Regions from separate parts of the Homo sapiens genome. Here region 1 is linked to region 2. The links are contacts of gene promoters, found by promoter capture Hi-C in human tissues and cell types (Jung and others, 2019). All regions are on one chromosome and are shown on one strand. The core of a region is centred on a gene start or on the middle of the fragment in contact, and the rest is flanking DNA. Distances in the headings are between cores, read along the strand shown.

The links. Contacts are between HindIII fragments. The study calls those that stand out against the background at their distance.
Region 1: a contact is called between a fragment that was not itself captured here and the fragment with the promoter of POLE4 in region 2, in 1 of the 25 tissues and cell types used here (H1 embryonic stem cells).

What each region holds. Positions count from the first base shown.
Region 1 is chr2:74,638,293-74,644,323 of GRCh38, forward strand. M1AP (meiosis 1 associated protein) reads right to left here. Exons shown (of 11, transcript NM_001321739.2): 2 at 1,744-2,035. The coding sequence starts at 1,983. Among named protein-coding and RNA genes, the nearest start is that of M1AP, 7.0 kb to the right of the region's middle. The HindIII fragment of the contact is 6,169 bases long and covers 1,298-6,031 here.
Region 2 is chr2:74,954,889-74,960,527 of GRCh38, forward strand. POLE4 (DNA polymerase epsilon 4, accessory subunit) reads left to right here and starts at 3,755. Exons shown (of 4, transcript NM_019896.4): 1 at 3,755-4,004; 2 at 4,453-4,537; 3 at 5,217-5,258. The coding sequence starts at 3,792. It overlaps LOC105374809 (a long non-coding RNA gene), which reads right to left and starts at 3,991. Exons shown (of 5, transcript NR_187884.1): 1 at 3,844-3,991. RefSeq lists enhancers at 3,341-3,841, 3,842-4,342 and silencers at 3,634-3,893, 3,964-4,203. The HindIII fragment of the contact is 11,068 bases long and covers 1-5,639 here.

The DNA.
Region 1 (6,031 bases), core at 3,132-5,631, 320 kb before region 2:
ATCTGCAAGCTGGAACAATTCTAAGTCTCACCTCATTGACTTCCTATCACCCAGGGGGCTTTGTTCTTTGCTGCGTGATGTCCAGTGTTTTGAAAAGTGTTTTTCATAGGTTTTATCCAGTTTTTTTTTATTGTTTGAGGCAAGAGGGTAAATCAGCTTGCTGTTATTCTATCTAGGGTGGAACAGTGACTTGCTTCCAATGAACAGAATGTGGAGGAAGTGACAACATGTTACTTTTGAGACTAAGACATAAAAGGTATTTTGGCTTCTTCATTGCTCTCTCTCTCTTTTGGATCAGTCGTTCTGGGAGAAGCCCGCTGCCACAAATTAAGGACATTCAAGCAGCCCTTTGGAGAGATCCAAGTGGTCAGGAAACAAGAATTTCTGCCAACAGCTAAGTGAATACGCCATCTTGCAACTGGATCCTCCAGCCTCAATCAAGCTTTCAGATGACTGACATCTTGGCTACAATCTCATGAGGGACCCCAAGCCTGATCTACCTAAGCCACTTATGAATTCCTAACTCATAGTAACTATGAGATGATGTTTATTAATTTAGACCACTACATTTTGGGATAATTTGTTACACAGCAATAAACAATGAATAGAGGTACCAAATTCTGCTCAAACTGTAGAAAGGATCAGTTGAATTTCTTAAATAATTTTATCCTTTTCCCATCCCCAACCCAGCCTAAGTAACAATGCACAGACAAAATCCCCATACTTAGCACTGGAGCATTTATACTCAAAACTTTCCCTGTGTGACTTTTGTCAAGAAATAAACCATGAGTTGTTATAAGCCTAAGGTTCTGTCAAAGCAACCAGGGTATGTTCTAACTCAAGAAGCATGAAGTAATATATATTATTTTCATTCTTTATAGTATCAACAGAGATGTTATCTTTCCACTTCCAATGAGGGAAACTAAGGCATTAATAAAAAAATAGATTTCAGTCATATATTACATTCATAATTCAGCAATGGATTTATGAAATTTCCTCTTTTGGAAATCTTAAATAAGACTTATATCCATTTGATAACGTATATTAGCAGCAAGGCTACCTCAAGGAAGGAGATGCATAGAACCTCTGGAAGTCTTTCTCTTCACTATGATTCTGAATTTTATACAAGGGAGAAAGGGAAGATTGAAATTTTGAGGAGGAGCATAGATAATTGTTTATGTATGAAGGAGCTTTGTAAAGACACTGCCCCTGGCCCAGCCATTGCCTTCCATAACCCTAGGGGGCAGTTTCACCTGAGTCTATGTGGAATGTAGAAAAAATATTTTCATGTTTTTGCATAGTTAGGGCTTTCTGAGCAAAGAAAACTGGTACCTGGGTTAAAGGGCAAGTCTTGGAAGTTAAAAGATGATTGAATAGTCAGAGACCTCAGAAGAGATTTAGAGGCTTCCCTCCTTGTGTGTTTACATTTCAAAGGGCATAAAAGGAGTCAGTTGTTTACATTTCAAACATCTGTCAATGCCAAGGTTTCTCTCCCTCTCTCTGGAGTGGAGCTTGTAGCCTATTTATACTCCCAGATTAATAATTTTGGATTTTCTCTTCAACAGTACACACCCCTATATATGCAGGATGCCCTCTGGCTCTCATGGTGTTACTCGGGGGCTACTGTGTGTGGAGAAGTAGTGCGGTTATTGTTATAAGTATTAATAACTGTGATCTCTATTCCAGAAACCTTACCACTGTATTTGCTTTCAGGGTAAAATGAATAAATATAGATATACTTACCACAAAAGGGAGGATGCACTCATGCTGATCTTGTACCATGTATAAACTGAACAGGGACATGCGGCTGGGGCCCATCAAGCTGCAGGCTAGAGAGAAGAAGTTCTGCAGAGCCTCACAGAGGTTGGTGCAGATGTCAGCCCAGGACGGTAGAGCAATGTGCACAATGAGAAGCCGTGGAGGTTGCTGGTCAATCTGAGTGTGAGTAGAGGGCCCTTTACCAGTAGTTCGCCCAGGATGCATGGCAGCAAAACCAGAGGGGGAACTGTAGCCACCAGCTGGATATTCTTTACACCTATAGGGAAGGAAAGAGAAACCACTGGTTTTCAAACTGAATTATGTGTGCTCTGTTGAAATATAAAATACAAGTCGAGGGAAACAAATCCAGAAAGGAGTCAGATTGGGTACTAAAGCTTGTCCAGGCCATCCTATTTTTTTTTTTTTTTTGAGACAGAGTCTCGGTATGTCACCAGGCTGGAGCGCAGTGGTGCGATCTTGGCTCACTGCAACCTCTGTCTCCCAGGTTCAAGCGATTCTCCTGCTTCAGCTTCCCGAGTAGCTAGGACTACAGGTGCACACCACCACGCCCAGCTAATTTTTGTATTTTTAGAGATGGGGTTTCACCATGTTGGCCAGGATGGTCTTGATCTCTTGACCTCACGATCCGCCCGCCTTGGCCTCCCAAAGTGCTGGAATTACAGGCGTGAGCCACCGTACCTGGCCCAGGCCATCCTATTTTAACAGCTCCCAAGAGATCTAGATGTTTGCCTATCATGTAAGCCTGAGAATGCTTAGAGATGCTGAGTGGAACTAATCAAAAGTTACACCAAAAAACTCAAGCTTCTGTCTCAAAGTAAGCTATCTGCCCTCATAAACTTTGTTTCTTTATTGGCATTTATTGCACTCTATTACAATTTGTTTCTATGACTGCCTCTCCCACTATATTGTAAGCTTCCCAAGGGTAGAGAACCTGTCTTGTTGATATTATTCATCAATGCCTAGCATATGTGTGTTTAGTACCTAACGAATAATTCTTAAAAATGAAAATATGACTACATTTCTCCTTGGTTAAAATTCTTTGGTTGTCTGAATCTCTTATAAGGTAAAATTTAAACTGTCTTTAAGACCTGTCATTACTTAATTGTTAGCCTCATTAGAAATTGTTCTTCGCCTCAAGATTTTCACGGAAACAATACCAAATATATTCACTTTAGTGCATTTGCTCATGCTGCTTCTCTGCCTCCAATACTCCTGCCTTCTTTCTCTACTGGCTACTTATACTTATCCCCAGGACTCAGATTAGGAAGTGAGAACAATTGAGAACAAAGAACCAATATAAGGAATGAGAAAGGGACATCATCACAAATGCTCAAACGTGAAAAGGGTTATAGGAGGACATAATGAATAGCTTTATGCTAATAAGTTTGATAAAGTGGACAAATTCCTAGAAAAATGTATCTAACCAATACTAAAGAAATTTTAGAAACCTAAATAGTCTATAATCATTAAGGAAATGTAATTGGTAATCAAATATCTTCCCACAAGTAAGAGGGTCAGATGATTTCACTGATGAGCTCCATCAAACATGCAAAGACCAAGAATTTCAATCTTTTTTTTTTTTTTTGTAGAGATGGGGTCTTGCCATGTTGCCCAAGATGGTCTCAAACTCCTGGGCTCAAGTGATCCACCTGCCTCGGCCTCCTGAAGTGCTGGGATTACAGGTGTGAGCCACCGCGCCCAGCCAAGAATTTCAATCTTAAACAAATTATTTTAAGAACAGAAGAACATATATAACAGGATACACTCCTCAACTAATTTTTTTTTTTTTTTTAGATGGAGTTTCACTCTTGTTGCCCAGGCTGGAGTGCAATGGCATGATCTTGGCTCGCTGCAACCTCCGCCTCCCGGGTTCAAGCGATTCTCCTGCCTCAGCCTCCTGAGTAGCTGGGATTACAGGCATGTGCCACCATGCCTGGCTAGTTTTGTATTTTTAGTAGAGACAGGGTTTCTCCATGTTGGTCATGCTGGTCTCGAACTTCTGCCCGCCTCGGCCTCCCAAAGTGCTGGGATTACAGGCGTGAGCCACGGCACCTGGCCTCCTCAATTAATTTTACGAGGTTAGCACGACCTTTGAAAGTGAAACCAGATAAAGGTGTAATAAGAAAAAAATTATAGGATAATCTCACCCATAAACTTGTAAAAATTCTAAATAAAATATAGAGAAATTGAAACTAATAATATACAAAAAAAAACAGCATGACCAAGTTGAGTTTATCCCAAGAACATAAGGTTGATATAACATTAGAATATCAATCACGTAATTCGTCACATTAAAAAAGTAAATGAGAAAAATGATATGATCATCCCAATAGACGCAAAAAAGCCTCTGTTTAAAACCCAGCATTTGTGCATGATAAAGACTGAGTAAGAATAGATGATAGGAATAATCTGACAAAATATATTTACAAAAAGAGAGAGCAAACATCATTCTTCATGGTGATATGTTGAAAGCTTTCCATGTAAGACAAGGAGCATGCTATCATCACTTCTATTCAGCATTATAGTGAAGGTAGTAATGAGGTAAGACAAATAAATAAAAGGCATTGCAATGGAAGAAAGAAAACTGTCATTGTGTGCCAATGATTGTGTATATAGAAAATCTAAAATAATCTACAGCTTTGTAATTTTTCCCAAAAGATCTCCTTGTCTTTTGTCAAATTTTAGTCTTAGGGATCTGTTGATTTTTAAATATTAATTTACATTTCAAAGAACTATCGATGACAAAGTTTCCCTTTCTCATCTTTTTAAATTTCATTTTTAGTTTGTTGCTTATGTATAGAAATATAGTTAATTAAAACAATCTTTTATAGAGATGGGGTCTTGCTATGTTGCCCAGGTTGGTCTTGAACTTCTGAGCTCAACCAATCCAACCGGCTCTGCCACCCAAAATGCTGGGATTATAGGCATGAACCACTGTGCCCAGCTATAATTAATTTTTGTATATTGACTTTAACAACCTTGCTGCACTCTCTTACTAATTATAATAATTTATCTATAGAACTTTTTGGATTTTTTTTGTTCTTAATCATATAATCTTTAAATAATCATATATAACAGGATACATGAAAAAAAAGTCAGATCATAGCAGCCAAAAGACTATTAATAACAATCTTGTTCACAATTACCCAAAACTGAAAAAAACACAAATGTCAATCTACATTAAAATGGATAAATCATAGTATATTTCCACATACAGCAATGAAGATGAATGAACTGCAGTTCCATGTGGCAACATGGATGATTCTAAGAAACATAATATTGAGTAAAAGCAGCAAGACACAAAGAATACATACACATGTAGCATGATTTCATCTACATTTTAAAAATAAGCAAAAGTAGTTATATTGTTTAGAGGTGCATACACAGTGATAAAATTATAAAGAAAAGCAAAGAATTGATTATCACAAAAATGAGGGTAGTGATTTTCCCTAGGAAAGAATGAAGGCATTATGATGAGAAGAGACAAAAGAAGGGGGTCCTGGGGTGTTGGTAATGTTCTTTTTTTTTTTTTTTTTTGAGACAGGGTCTCGCTCCATCGCCCAGGCTGGAGTGCAGCAGTGGCCCAATCTCAGCTCACTGCAACCTCCACCTCCCAGGCTCAAGTGATCCTCCCACCTCAGCCTCCTAAGTACCTGGCACTACAGGCATGCACCACAATGCCTCTCTAATTTGTGTGTTTTTTTGGTAGAGACAGGGTTTTGCCATGTTGCCCAGGCTGGTCTCAAACTCCTGGGCTCAAGCAATCCTCCCACCTTGGCCTCCCAAAGTACTGGGATTACAGGGATGAGCCACCACTTCCAGCCTAATGTTCTATTTCTTGATCTTTATTGTGGATATTGGGTATTCACTTTCTACTATTAAACTACACATTCATGTTTTATGACATTTTCTGTATATATGTTATATTTAATAATAAAAATATTTCAAGAAGAACATTAGGACAATCAAAAGAAAACAAAAGAAATATGATAAAAAAGATAGCTAAAAAATATGTCCCCACCTCTGAGAACTAAAATCATTCTATATAATTGTTTTTAGCTAAAGAATGTAGGGAAAATTAAAGCTTATTTGATTTCCCCTGTGACAATACAAAGATAATTATGATAATTTTCAGAAACACTTTGGAATTTAGAATCTTTAAAAATGATCTAAGAATACATAGATAGGCCGGGCGCAGTGGCTCACGCCTGTAATCCGAGCACTTTGAGAGGCTGAGGCGGGTGGATCTCAA
Region 2 (5,639 bases), core at 2,505-5,004:
AACCAAGATGGCCAGGAGAGTGACCTCTGGTCGTCCTCACTGCTACACTCCCACAAGCACCATGACAGTTTACAAATGCCAGGGCAACATCAGGAAGTTATCCTATATGGTCTTAAAAGGGGAGACATGAATAATCCACCCCTTGTTTAGCAGATAATCAAGAAATAACCACAAAAATGGGCAACCAGCAGCCCTCAGGGCTGCCCAGCCAATGGAGCAACCATTCTTTTATTCCTTTACTTTCCTAATAAACTTGCTTTCACTTTACTTTATGGACTTGCCCTGAATTCTTTCTTGTGTGAGATTCAAGAACTCTCGCTTGGGGTCTGGATCAGAACCCCTTTCCTGTAACATTTTTCTGGTGACCACGAAAGGACTCTAGCAAGGAAACCCCTGACCCAAAGGCTAACTTTGGGTAAGTGGTGGGGTCCAGTAACACCCCCACCATTGTCAACTGTCTTATGTTAATTCAGAATTTAGGTCAATTTAGTACTTAGCTACTTTGCGATTGCTGGAGTATAGCTCTTGTGAGGTGTTCTTGTGCACTGTGACACAAGAATCTGGTCATGCTTTTATGAATTTTGTGTGGAGCTTTCCATGAGTGAGAGTGTCCATAAATGTAATCTGAAAAGAACCCAGGACTGAGGCCCTAATGGCTGCTCTGGTTCAATTTTCAGCAACTCATATCCTCTTCTGCAGATTTTAATTCTGGGCCAAGACTCTTATTCTGCTATAGTGGAGTGTCTCTGTGCTAATTCAGGGTTGGGGCTCATTACATGATACCCCAAAGTATGGTACTTTGGAATGCTGAGTACTTTGAACTGAAGAAAATTGGAAAGGCCTCAGAAGCAAGGTCTTTCTGAACTTCTCCTGTCCTGTTTTCCACTGTAAGCAGTAGAAGTTATTACAGTTACTGGCAGCAAATTGCAGCAACCTCGATTCTTGTCTCCTCAGAAGATGTCGACTGAGGGGCATAAGGCAAAAGAAGAGACTGAGGCAAGTTTTAAAGCAGGAGTGAAAATTTCTTAAAAAGCTTTAGAGCAAGAACGAAAGGAAGGAAAGTACACTGAGAAGAGGCCCAAGTGGGTGACTTGAAGGACAAGTGCAAGGTTTGACCTTTTGACTTGGGTTTTTATGTGTTGGCATACTTCTGGGGTCTTGCATCCCTTCTACCCTGATTCTTCCCTTGGGGTGGGTTGTCGAAATGCACAGTAGCCTGCTAGCGCTGGGGAGGGGAGCAAGTGCAGTGTATTTATTGAAGTTGTAAGCATGCTCACCTGAGGCGTTCTTCCCTTTTTCAGTAGAATGCCCCCAGAAGGTCATATATCAGTTAAATTCCACCATTTTGCCTCTTAGTGTGCATGCGTGAGCCCGCTCGCCCAACTCCTGAGATCTCATCAGGAAGCTCCTGATCATCAGTTTCAGGGTTTTTCTATCTATAGGGAAACTGCCTTTCCCTGGCGCTGGCTATGAGCAATTATTATTTTAGAGAGGCGGTGTGACCACTGTCTGACCATCACCTGATGATCTTCTGACATTCCTGGTGGAGCGTGGGGGCCCTATCCTGCCCTGTTCGTGTCTGACTAGCTACCCACTGTAACATCACCACTCTTCGCAGTGAGTCATGGAAACCAGAATTCCTCTTTCCCAACGCAGGTCATAGAAACTAGAATTCTCCTTCCTCCAAGCAAGTCGTAAAACCTAGAAAGGTTATTTTCTGCCTTCTCCCTTGAAGACCCTCATTCCAGAAGGGTCCTGCCCTAATACCAGAAGGAATGCTACACAGGGAGGCCAAGAAGAATATGAACAGACAGGCCTTGCTGGGTTTCCCCATTCAGTCTATTACCATTAGACTATTATCATTCCCTTTTTGTCCAATCCCATTTCTTTTTCTTTTTAAGACACAGGGTCTCTCTCTGTCGCCCAGGCTGGAGTGCAGTGGTGCAATCATTGCTCACTGTAACCTTGAACTCCTGGGCTCAAGCAACTCTCCCACCTCAGCCTCCCAAGTAGCTAGGACTATAGGATCACAATACCCAGCTAATTTGTGTGTGTGTGTGTGTGTGTGTGTGTGTGTGTGTGTGTGTGTGTAGAAATGGGGTCTCCATCTGTTGCCCAGGCTGGTCTCAAACTCCTGGGCTCAGGCGGTCCTCCTGCCTTGGCTTCCCAAAGTGTTGGGATTACAAGTGTGACCCACCGTACCAGGCCTCTAATCACATTTCTACACAGCGATCCCTTCTTCATATAACCTAAGCATAAAAATAGTTTCCTCTAGGTCTCATGGTCTGCATTTTTGGACTCTCATGTCATGTAAAACTTTGATTAGACTTGTTAGGCTTTTTGTGTGTGTTATAGGAGTGTCAGCTGTGACCCTTAAAATGGGTAAAGAAAGGTTTCACACCTTTCCACTCCTACACCAGTCAGAGTTTACTACATAATTTTGGAACTGAGTGATTTCAGATGTGTTTAATTCAGCTTCATCTTGGCTTCACCACATTCTGCCCTGTGTATGCGACTCAGTAACCACTCTGCACCTCAATTTTTTCAAATAAGGTTTGAAAAAGAAGGTTATAATATTTACCTCAATAGGGTATTGTGAAAATTACAGAAGTTATGATTTACATAAATCTAAAACACTTTGAATCATGCACATAGTAAATGTTTAAAGGTGTTCACTATTATTATGATTGACTTAGATTAAACCTATTTTAAATATTAACTGTTCCTCTACGCTATCAGACCTCCAAGTGTGGTGTGGGGATTCATGGGGGTGGGAATTTTCTGGAGACCCTTTTCAGGAGTCCATGAGGCCAAAATTATTTTCTTAATACTACTATGAGGTTGCCTTTTTCATTCACATTCTCTCAAGATGTAGTAGTTTTTTAAGAGCTACCTGAGAAGTGCTAACGTTAGCAACAGAAGCAGCTAGAGAATCCAGTTCTCACATGAAATCAGACATTAGAGACTTTTCTTACTAGATTTAAAAAAAATTACTTGTCATAAAAATGTTGTTTGTTAGCTGGTAACGCATTAGTAATTTTAAATCAATATTTTAAAACTTTAATTCTAATATAGTAAGTATTGATATAACTGACAGAAACAAAAGCTCCCTGGGCTCTTTAACAATCTTTAAGACCGTAAAGGGATCTTGAGGTCAAATTTGAGAACCAAAGCTGTGATGCAACCTCTTTTTGAACAAACGTGGATGCCTCACCACCACAATTTCATCTTTTCTAGCCTCCATGACTTTTTCTTGTTTCCTCTGGCTGGGCTGAATTTCTTCATTTCTGCCTGCCAAAAGCCCTACCCCTCCTTCAAGAGCATCTATAACTGGTTATCCTTGAATTTGGTCCAGATTTCGCTGCCTCCTTGGCACCCTCTTCCACGATGCTGGGCCCTCCAGGGCCGGGCCTCCCTCGGACACGTGCCCTCGTTAGCCTTGGAATATGCACACTCTGTTTTGACGGAGACTCTCTTGCGAGCCTGGTCTAGATTTCTCCCCTCACCAGCCAGGCACAGGCACCAATGGGAGGTGCCTGGGCTCCACAGGCCCGTCGGGGCCAGAGGGTCGCCGGTAGCGTCAACCAAGTGCACGACAGCCCACGGGTGGCTAGGCGCGTGGGAAGAGCCGGAGCCCGACCCCCGCCCACCCGGTTTCCTGGCAGCGCACTGCCGCGTAGGGGCGGAGCCGCGCGCCTACACAGGGTGTGGCCTCCAGCCCGCGCGGGAAAGGGCCTGCGCCGCATGCGCGCGCACAGTCGGCGGCCGCGCGCAGCACGCTCAAGGCCGGGATGGCGGCGGCGGCGGCGGCAGGAAGCGGGACGCCCCGAGAGGAGGAGGGACCTGCTGGGGAGGCAGCGGCCTCGCAGCCCCAGGCCCCAACGAGTGTGCCTGGGGCTCGTCTCTCGAGGTTGCCTCTGGCGCGAGTGAAGGCCTTGGTGAAGGCAGATCCCGACGTGACGCTAGCGGGACAGGAAGCCATCTTCATTCTGGCACGAGCCGCGGTGCGCCTGCAGCGCGAGGGCATGCGGGAGTGGGGGAGGTGGAGTGTGGGGCGGGGCCTCGGGGCCTCCCGCGGGCGGGGCTTAGGGCGGCGTGGCCCGGGTTTTGAGATGTGGGCGTGGACCCGGAAGGCGGAGGAAAGGGGCCGGGGACCTGTGCGAGTTTTGTTAACACTCCTCCCTCTTGTTGAGGACCTGGATAGTGAGTGACTTTAATTTGTATCTCCAGGGCCTCGTACAGAACTTGTAGGAGTCTTTAGTGAATGAGGGAGAATACTGGGAAGAGGGTAGCGGAATGGATCTTCATGAAGTCCAGGACAATCTTAGCTTCCAGAACATTTTCTTGCCCCGAGCCTTTCTTCTCCCTTTCTGCCCCCACCCACAAACCGGAGCCCTCACCTCCTCAGTGTGTTAGAACCCATTACTAAAACTTTGCTTTTTTACTTCACAGGAACTGTTTGTGGAGACCATTGCAAAAGATGCCTACTGTTGCGCTCAGCAGGGAAAAAGGAAAACCCTTCAGAGGAGAGACTTGGGTAGAGTGGCACTGCAGTGTCTGGGGACAGACAAGGGAGGGCTGGGCTGGTTTCCCCTTGTGCAGGTTGAGAAGACGTCACTCTGATCTGAGAGGTGCCACAGCGTCTCTCCCCAGGATGGTTTCTGTTGGCCACAGTGCCAGGAAGCCCTACCTGTAGAGGCTGTCTGCTTGGGGTGGCGGGGCAGTGTGTGAAGGTGTCTGGGGTTGCCGTAGCGGACTGGATCCCTTCATACCTTCTGCCAAATTGCACCAGAAAAAGATATTTCTTTTTCACCTAGCAACTGGGGATTTGATTTCTGACTCTTGTCTGGCTGGGAACCCTCACCTGGGTAAGATTTCGTATACCGTATTCTCATGCGCCCTGCGTCTATTGCCACGTTCTTCTCTGACAACTTTAAGAGCAAAGCGAATAAATAATTTAGGGGTAATTTAGGAGGCCCCCAACCCCCGCGTTGAATGGTATTTGCCTATGCTTTTCTTAACTCTTCTAGGGAGACAGCTAATATATATAAGAGTTGCTGGTAGAGTAGATATGGATCTCAAGGCAGCAAGGGACGCATCTTATAAATGCCCTCATTTGCCCAAAGCCTCATGCCCTTCACTGCAGATTGTGCTGTTTTCTGACTGAGGTCAGCATGGCTGAAGTTAGTCAGGTGTCTCTTTTCCTTGTGTTTCAGATAATGCAATAGAAGCTGTGGATGAATTTGCTTTTCTGGAAGGTGAGTTCCCTCTCAGTGGGCAATCATTTCCGCCTGTCTTTTGCATGTTGATGTGAAATTCAAAATCTCATAAAACGGATGCCTGCTTCTTGTTTGTGTAGGGATAATTCTCCGCACTTGCTATTAGGATAGAAAAAAGTAACTTGCTAAACCTAGTGAGGTTCAGTTTTCTCCCTTGGGGAATTAAAATTTCTACCTGAAAATTGCTAACCATAAAGAAATAGGAGGGAATATAAAGATCCCAGTGGAGTTAGATGAATTCGAAAGTTCGATTCCTACTTTGATCGCCATCCCTAAATGTCAGGCTTGCCCCCCCTCATCATGTTACAGATCAGAAACAATTGTTAACATTTAAAGGGTCACCGCTTGTTCTTTTTTCTT